Linked DNA regions of Homo sapiens: regions 1 and 2 are each linked to region 3. The links are contacts of gene promoters, found by promoter capture Hi-C in human tissues and cell types (Jung and others, 2019). All regions are on one chromosome and are shown on one strand. Each heading gives the region's core, a stretch centred on a gene start or on the middle of the fragment in contact. The rest is flanking DNA. Distances are from core to core; before and after follow the strand shown.

Evidence for each region. The method cuts DNA at HindIII sites, captures the fragments that hold promoters and counts their contacts. A contact is called where the count stands out against the background at its distance.
Region 1: a contact is called between a fragment that was not itself captured here and the fragment with the promoter of SEMA3D in region 3, in 8 of the 25 tissues and cell types used here (H1 embryonic stem cells, adrenal gland, aorta and 5 more).
Region 2: a fragment that was not itself captured here is called in contact with the fragment with the promoter of SEMA3D in region 3 in 4 of the 25 tissues and cell types used here (H1 embryonic stem cells, adrenal gland, mesendoderm cells and 1 more).

What each region holds. Positions count from the first base shown.
Region 1 is chr7:85,103,844-85,106,971 of GRCh38, forward strand. The region is part of intron 3 of SEMA3D (semaphorin 3D); the gene reads right to left. Among named protein-coding and RNA genes, the nearest start is that of SEMA3D, 82 kb to the right of the region's middle. The HindIII fragment of the contact is 3,004 bases long and covers 314-3,128 here.
Region 2 is chr7:85,263,465-85,266,749 of GRCh38, forward strand. No RefSeq gene overlaps it. Among named protein-coding and RNA genes, the nearest start is that of SEMA3D, 78 kb to the left of the region's middle. The HindIII fragment of the contact is 6,336 bases long and covers 1-3,285 here.
Region 3 is chr7:85,185,407-85,188,604 of GRCh38, forward strand. It overlaps SEMA3D (semaphorin 3D), which reads right to left and starts at 1,650. Exons shown (of 19, transcript NM_001384900.1): 1 at 1,272-1,650. RefSeq lists a silencer at 1,462-1,521. The HindIII fragment of the contact is 9,968 bases long and covers 1-3,198 here.

The sequences.
Region 1 (3,128 bases), core at 566-3,065, 81 kb before region 3:
ATTTTGATGGATGGATGACACAGAGAAGATGTTCTTGACCCAGTACCAGTAAACCACCATGGGACAATGAAATGGTTCCGAGGATCGAATTTCATATAAACAACATGAAATTTTCACGTTTGTATGTATGTGTGCATTTTTTGAAGAGTTTCTTCATTTGTCTTTATTAACACCTCTTGATATCTTACCAGAAGTCACAGGGAGAAATATATGTTTTCCACATGTAGTTAGTAATCATATTTAAAATAATTTCCAATTGCTAGCACAAGAAAGTGAGTCACTACCCTCCCAAAATGTGACTTTTGCAGGCAATGACTGACTCATCTAAGAATACCAGGTATCTGCACATGCTGGAAAGACATTGATTACAAGTTTGACACACTCCTGTCCTCATGGAACTCACAGCCTAGTGGAGAGAAAATGTTCATCCACAACAAAAATGAAAATATACTTGTGACAAAGGACAACCATATAACATAGTAGACCATTAAGTATCTCTAATAGTAAAATGGAAATATCTTTTTATCTATATTTCCTTTAGCAAGCCTAATAAAATGAATCTCCTAATTGATAGCCAGATGCTCTGCTATTTAAGGGGAAGGATAAGGATTAGGTAATCTCTGCTCTTATTTGAAATAGTTTTGTTCTAAAAATAATTCTTTGTATCTCCCTTTTAGTGTCCCTTAATACAATTGTTCATTCAGCCTGGGGAAACATTTGACCCGATGGTCTATATTCTTCCTCTTCACCCCAGAAAGGAAGGGAGTGGTGAGTCATATTGAATCTAATAAATTTAGGATTAAGCAACACAGACTTCCTCAGTATTTGAGTGTTAAATGAACAAGATCCTATAACCTTGAAATCTTGCATTTATTGCCAGAGATCCCGAACTGGGTGGAGTTGTCAGTTTCTCTCACGAGAAGACTACATAGATTAAAAAAAAAAGAAAAGAAAAGAAAAGAAAAAAAATGCTTCCCACATCCTTTAAAGAACATTTTATGAAAGACAGAAATTCATGGGGCTAAAAAGAAAATCAGCTTTGGAGAAGCTTAACTTCCAATGTATTCCAATCTAGGGAGTAAAATTCCTCAGCAGAGAAACTTCACAACTAAAAATAGATCCAGATCAAAATACAGTCACCTTTCCCTGCCATCTCAGGATATTCAGCACAAATTATTGCCCTGCCCACTTTTCTTTTTCCTTCAGGAAATAGCAGTTTTATCAGTAGGGCTATTCTCATGTTTCTTTAGTATAGTCAGATCTCCAATGTATTCTCTACAAAGCTGTGTAAGTAAAAACGTTTCTCTTTAAGCCTTTCAGCATCCTTTCTATTTCTGCCTTCCCCCTAAATTCAGCATTTCTCCTCTGATCTCTAAAGTTCCAGGGCTTTTTATGCTGAGTTAGTATCAGAGCATCATTTCTATGGAGTGCCTTCAAAGCTTCTGCCCATAACTTCCAGAAATACTACAGCTTTTTGTCCAAGGCAAGGCATGGATTCTCTCTTAGATTTAACATTGGGAAAATTAGCTCATCTTAACTTGGCATCAGCTGACCTCCAATATGCTTTCTGAGGCTTGAGATCATGTGAAAACGTTCTGTTTATCAAGATAACTCATAATTCCCCTTTAGCAACACAAAAATACCTATGATTCTCCACTGTGTACATTTAGTCTCTAAAGCTAATTGTTCAAAGCATATAAAGAAAAAATATTAGTCAAATCTAAAAGCCCTACAAAAGACTGCTTCAAAATTGCAGGTGAATATTATGTTATTATTATGCTCTCTTAGATATCATTAAGCTATCCACACTAACCATTATTTCCTTGCAAATGCAAGTCCAAATCAGAAAGAACACAAACAAATCAAATTCTCTTGCTTTTCTGTGATGGAATGTTATAGATCATTCTGTTCATTGGTCTTAGAACATTACCTATATCAATAATAAAACAGATGATATCACATAGGGAAACATAAATTAGAAACAAATTAAGCTTATTATGTCATGGGGTCTGTGTTCTTGCCAAGACAGGTTGTGGAGTAGGAGTGTGGCAATTACTCATGGTCACATTTCTATCACATCCATACTTTTAAATTACATTTTGTTCTTATTTGGCCAGCTTTCAATAGTGGATGCTTTATATAATCCATCATTGTGAGATTTATCATTTATAGTTACGGAGTAAATTCATACTTTGAATGAGTCCTTTTAAATTTTCAAAAGCTTTGCTGGGATCTTTTTTCCTATTGACCTGTAAAAAAGTTAGTATTATAAATATCTAGTACATTTCCAGAAAAGCAATGTCACGATGGAATAAACTTCCTGGAAAAAAGTTGAGAGTATCATTCTGAGCACGATTGATACTACTTTTACAATTGCTTCATAGCTTCCTTCAAGTTATTCAGAATTTCTCCTTCTTCAAGTTACAAAGAATGTTTAAAATTAAACGCCATGTCACACATATTTGGTATTTGTTTCAATCAAGTATATAAATTTAATGTAGAAAACATCGGAAGGTCTTAACTTAATACAACATCTATTATTGACTCCAAGTAATAGACAAATACGACAATATGACAAGACAAATAATTCCTCAAACTAAGATCACTATAAATTAAGGAATAAAGCAAAAAGTTATGTGTGTAATATAAAACAGATAACATTATTTTATAACAATATTGTTTTATAAAATTAATTCTATTAAAATCAAGTATATGTATATCAAAAAATAATGTTAAAAGGCATATGTGAAACTTCTCAATTGTGACAGTCACAGCTGAGATGTCTCATGCCATCTGTAGTAGTCTGTCCTCAAACTGCTGTGAAGAAATACCCGAGTCTGGGCAATTTATAAAGAAAAACTGGTTTAATTAACTCACAGTTCCGTATGGCTGGGGAGGCCTCAGGAAACTTACAATCATGGTGGAAGCCACCTCTTCACAGGGCAGCAGGATGAAAAATGAGTGCAAGCAGGGGAAATGCCAGATGCTTATAAAACCATCAGACCTCATGACAACTCACTCACTAAGAGGAGAAAAGCATGGGGGAAACCGCCCTCATGATTCAATTACCTCCCACCAGATCCCTCACAGGACACGTGGGGATTACGGGAACTACAATTCAAGGTGAG
Region 2 (3,285 bases), core at 537-3,036, 78 kb after region 3:
TTTCTGTGTATACTTATAAATTATTAGATTAGAAGTGAAGTGGAATTATCTCCTGCAATGCATATTTACAAAGAGCTATATCTATATGAATTTTTATAGAGACTTTTTTTCATTGAGATAATCAAATAAGAATTTGAGATAACTGTTTTGCCTCATGGATCTCTAAATGTCCCCAAGTCATCCAAAGTACTCCTTAGATATACAGAGAAATATCATAAAGCAATGATTCACAAAACAGAGAAAATACTCAGTATCAAATTAAAACCTATAAGGAGCAAATGGTTCCTTAGAAATATGTTAATTAAGACAATAATAATTAAACAACCATGAGGTAACAATTTTTCATTAATGAAATTGCCAAAGGAAACAAAATTCCATACTGTTGGTGAGAGTCTAATTAGACAGCCCTTGTAAAAAGCAATTTGCTAATATGAAACAGACATTAAAATATTTGTATTCTTAACCAAGTGATTCCAAAAGTGGTAGCTCCATCCTAAAAAAAGAGAAAAAGCTACACTATCATAATATTAATTACAATGTTAATTATTTTATGAGGGAAATGGAAATTAAACTAGGCATGATGGCTTACACCTGTAATTTCAGTACTTTGAGAGGCTGAGGTAGGAGGATCCCTTGAGCCCAGGAGTTTGAGACCAGCCTGGGCAATATAGTGAGACCCCATCTCACAAAAATAGAAAGAAAATAAAAATTAACTTTAAGGCCCAAGATTGAAGGTGACTAAGTATGTTGCCCAGGAGTTTGAGACTAGTCTGGGCAATATAATGGGCAATATAATGGGACCTAATCTCTAAAATTATATAGATATTTAAAAATTAGCCCAGCAAGTTGGTGTGCACCTGTAGTCTCAGCTACTTGGGAGGCCAAGGTGGGAGGATCACTTGAGCCCAGGAGGCAGATGTTGCAGTAAGATGAGATTATACCCCTGCACTCCAGCCTGGGGGCAGAGCCACACCCTGTCTCAAAAAATAAAATAAAACAAAATAAAAGTAATGCAATGAATCAATTCTTTACTTTCTCAAAGTTATGACAGGTGGTAATGGTACATGTTTAATAAGAATAAATATTAAACAAAACAAAATATAAGCATAATTAGTAGAATGCAAATTTAAGGAATTAATTAACAGCATTTAATACTCAGTCATAAATGAATAATGACTATGATTAAGTAAAACATATCTATGATGATGTGATAGCATTTAATCATCACTTATTTGATTTAACAAATTTTACATCCTTTTGTCAAATTCTGAAAATAGCTAATTTTACAATGTATTCCTTTGTTTTGAATTGAATGGGGAGAATAGAGCTAAACAGACTTCATCATCAACTTTTAAATTATATGTCCCTTTTATTTTTAATTATTTCTATTCAATCTCTCACTTTTTCTCTTCCTCTGCCTTTACTTGTTTATTCTCTGTAGTCTGTAGTATAGTTCTGAAAGACTGTTACCTTCACACTACACAGGTAAAGAAATTATTATACTCCTTTAGACAATACTCAAATACCACCAAATATTGTCAATAAAATATTACTTAAGAGCTTAAGTGTGTTTCTATTTTTGTTAATTAGTTTCTTTGTCTTGTAGTTTAGCTGGAAATGTTAGCTTTCTTACAAAGGTGAATAATGAGAATCAATAATATGTTCTACTAAAATACATATTCTAATCCATAATCTATTATATCTTCACTTATAAGACTTGATATTTTGCAAACATGCATGAGGGAATATTTTTACCAAAAAAAATGCTTACTGCTGGGAAATACAGTAAATGCTATCCCTGTTGTTAATGTCTGCATTTTAATTTTGTATATATACATCAGATTTATGTTTTTGTTTCATAGGGATCTCTAGCAAGATGGAAAACAGCAACAATAATCAGATAATATCAATAATTGTGTTTATATTCACTAATATCAAGATATCTAACTGCTCTTTCAAAGTCCTTTGAGAACTCCCTCAAGGCTTCAGAAAGTTCACATTTTTTTGCTTTGTTGAACTGTGGCAGGTTACTGGCCATAATAAGGACCCAGTGTAGAATTCAGGGATCTACTCCTAATTCTCAGGAGTACATTTCACATCATACCCTATTTACCTAAGTCTCATCTCTCTGGATCACAAGCCAAAGTATCAAAGAGTGAGATTTAGTTTATAAGCATCTTTGAAATACATACTCGTGTTGAGTCATTATCTTCACAGACCTACAGAATGTAGGAGTTAAAGATTATCGAGATCAATCTACCATTCAACAGACAAAAAAATTAAAACTCAGAAGAGGTGAAGCTTGCTGCTTTTTTAATTAAAAGCTATAAATTTTTTTTGAAAAGAAATGTTTTATTTTTAAAAGAAAACATTAGTATTGTTCTCCAAATATTTTTTCCTAAATATACATATATATATGTATCTAAATAAGTGATATAAACCACTTGAAAGATAACTATTTCTCACATAAATAATTTAAAAGGGAGCACAAGGGTCAACCATCTATTTTTTTTAGTTCTCAGAGTTAATGGCTTAATGGGTTATCATATTTATGATTGTAGTCAGCATCTTTTTGTTTTTTTTTTTTAGATCTATCCATTATCTATTATCCATCCATTCTCCAAACTTATTCATCCCAGTTAGATTCAGTCTTGGCAGAGGGTTTGTCATGCCTCTAAAGCTAAGCCAATTTGACTCTTTTTGGAATTTAATTCTCATGTTATTATCTTGGTAAGAGGCCATAATTTTTTTCTCCTCAGGTGCTGACTTCTTTACCTCACCACAACTTTATATTGAGTAGTAAGTAAGTCATGCATTACTTTCTGTGGAGTGTCACTTCTCAATTCCCTAGGAAATCTCTTTCTATGGTACTTTAAACATCTCACTTTAGCCCCAGCTATTAACAGTAACTGTTAATTTGTAGTTATTGTAACTGTGATGTTTCTTCACATTTTCATGAGTCAACGCAAATTTTCACTAAATAATATATTTATGTTAATACATCTCAATTCATTGATTTTTTTCAATTTTCAGAAATGTTTTCTCCAATGTGAGACTTAAATATTCACTTCAGGTGTGAATTTACTAACACCTGCTTATGATGCTTATGTTTAGTTAATTCAGAAAATGTTAATGATTCATAAACTGGCATAATTTTAAATACTTGTAAGGTGTTGATAAAAATAATCTTTATTAAGTATTTTAATATTCAGCTCCTCAAAAGTAAATACGTGAAAGGAAGTCAAGATGGTTAAATAGATGGAGCTAGTAATACCCTCTTCCACA
Region 3 (3,198 bases), core at 400-2,899:
AGTTTAGGTCTTCTCCCCTCTTCTTTTGCTTGTGCAAATAGCACTAAGCTAAACGGAAAGTGGTGGGGTTTTGGTGATGAAATAAGAGTCCACGCACAGAAGCTTGCCTTTTATTACCGCTTCGCTCGAGGCGAAATCGCTGAAAGTTCGGCTATTTAACTCCTGTCCCCATAACTCGGAATCCCGGACACCAGCGGCCCCAGCTGCTGGCGCGCGGCTCTCTTCCAGTCCCCTGGATCCCAAAGCTCCCTGCCACAGCGCGGCGTCTCCTCCTCCTGTCAACTTCCCTCCTTGCACTGTGACGGAGGCAAAGCAACTCAGCCCAGGAGGTTGAACTCGAGTCATCAGAGAAGGAGAAACAGTGCCGAAAACGGCCCGTGCGCTACCAGGGTAGCCCATTAACGCATTAACTCCAGGCTCGTTGGGCAGAAGCCGGGAGGAAACACCCTGGGGACCGCACTCCTGGTTAAATGCCCAGCACGAGTCAAATCCGGCCTTTCCAAAGCGAGCCAAGCCCACTACTACAAAGAGATCCCCCGAGTGTTTTGCCTTAACCACATTTCAGACAGCCAGCTTTGTGGCTGCTGTTTGACTCCAACTTTCCCTCTAAATCTAAAAGGATGCACACTTCCATCAGACGGAACGTCGCGATTCCCCGGCGAAGAAAAAGGCGTCGCCCATTCCTCTTCCAAAACGCTACAACAAAAACCACCACGCTTCCCTTCCTTCTTCCTTGCCCCTTTCCCTTCTCCCAGACCAACAAGGAAAGGAGCGAGCGAGGGCGCAGATGCCCTTTGGTCAAGTACTCCCCGGATGTTCCCGACTAAAGCGTCTCCAAATGAACCTGCAGCCTGCGGAAGCCGGGGACACATTCATAGACGCTCTCTGCTGCCCAGACCAGGAGGGGTGGTGGGGGAACCAGGAAGCCAGGGAGAGAGCAAAGTTCCTGGACGCGTCTCAGGAGGAAAACTTTGTGCAGTGCTGCCAGGCGGAGGCTCGTCAGAAGGCTCCGCAGCTGCTGAGGCGGGGTGGGACTGCGCCCCAGGGGCCGCGCTGAAGCTGGCGCCGCGATTACTGCGCACCGATTTCGCCCACTCTCTGTCCGCTCCCGGGAGCCTTCTCTGTCTCAGGACGGTTCCTTATCTCCCAAACCATGCTCGTCCTCCACTTCGGACCCACAGCCACCCCCAAATCCCGGCTATCCCCGCTTAGCACCGCGGTCTCCAGCACACCCTCCCACTGGAGTAGCAGGTGACCCAAACCAGACTTACCTGCTGTGAACTCTTCTCTCCCTCTCTCTTTTCCTGGTGCCTTTTCAGGGAGAGGGGAACGGGATGCAGGCTGAGGTCCAGCGGCGCGGCAACCCGGGGCACCGGCGCGCGTTCCTCTGAGCCGCAGCCCTGGCTGAGCAAGCGGAGCCGCCGGCAGCCCTGGCAGAGCCGGGAAGCTGCGGCCGCAGGGGCCAGGCCGGGAGGCAGGGGGCGCTGCTGCCTCCCCCGAGAGCCGCGCTAGGACAGGCGGAGAGCAAGGCACCAGCTGGAGCTTTGGGGAGGAGAGGGTGGCGAGGAAAGGCACGCTCCAAACAGGAGGGCGGCTTTTAAGTTTGTGGTGTGACCGCAGCAGCTGTCCTGGGAGAGACTCAGTCTTTCTAAAAAGAGGATGCTGAAAACGCCGGGGATTACCTTTCCCCTTCCGATCTCCTCCCCCAGCCCTCGCCCCCTCCTTCCACTGCGCACGCCAGAACTCCCAAGCGTGCAGAAGTTCATCCCTGCTGCGCGGAGGCTGCCAGCAGCGTGGATTTAGAGGTAGCCCTGGCCAAGCGCTGACGGATGTTTATCAGGACAGGGCACCCTATGTGTAAAGCAACCTCTAACGTCTGATCTTCCTTCTGGGTGACTTGGGGACTTCTTTAGTTCCTTCTCTATACCATAAAACCTGTTAAGGGACCCCATGAGGAAGAAACAGGGAGAGTGACCACAAACACCGTCCTAAAAATGCTAATCCCACAAAACAGTACCTGCGTTCCACTATGTAAAACCTCAATCCACGGTTAATGGCCTTGACAAGGCAGGCATAGGGATGAGGAACAGGGATCAACCCTCCGTTAAGGGGCTGGCACCCGATTAAGACCAAACAGGGAGAGATAAAAACGAGTAGAATGTAATCCTTTCTTCCTCTTTCCCTTACGCCAGACCTACAAAGAGGTGTGCCTCATATCCTTGTCTTCGGGAGTTTTTTAGATTTTTGCACCCCTTATTCACACAGTAGGAACTTAGAAGTATATAATGACGAGAAGATCTAAGTTTTGATGAACCTGGATCCTATGCAATTGGAATAGAGGATCCTCTTTAAGCAAAAGTAATGCAGAAATATCTCACTTCTACAGATTCTGCAAAAATATATGACAATGAGAGTTCATGAGGCCACCGTCAGGGACATTAAAAAGGCCTGTGCATTTGGTGAGCCCTGTACGTTAGGCATTTTTAGCTGCATGGTAAATCCTTTGTGATGGGATATCCAGGTTTATAGTCACACACCTTGCCCTTAGTCCCAAACATAAATCTGACATGAGGTAGAGACATGGAAAGCAAGCAGCCACGGGATCCTGCATTTGTCAGCTTGATTTAAGAGCACAAGGTGTAGGGTCCCAAAGCTTCCTTAGCAAGTAACAAGAGATATCTTGATTTGGAGATGGTGAACAGACAAATGCAGTAATGGAATAACTGAAAGGGGTGGAAGACATTCTTCATTTGACCTTTTATCTGTGGCAGAGGGCTGAGGGCCACAGAAGCTAAAGGAGTCATTTTAAGTTATAAATGGTTGATGGCAGAGTCAGGCTAAGGAAAGGCTCAGGTTTCTCAAATCTGACCAAGGCTCTTTCTTGTGTCTCATGCTGCCCCATCTCTATAACCTTGGTTTGGACTCACAACCAATCAACCCCATAAATACCCTCTTTGGATAGAGAAAAAAATTTTAAATCCTCGTAGACTATTTCAAACTATAGCAACTTTTATTTTTTTTCTGAATGCTTTATATTTAATGTTATACCACTCATTCTGTACATAGTCATGCAATTGTTTATTGTATGTTTCTATGTGTTTATATTATTTTCATTTGTATATGTCATTGCACTTCCATGCAAATTGCAATGTCATTGTGCAAATAAAATATCTCTTTTTTTCTCCCGTATATGGTGGG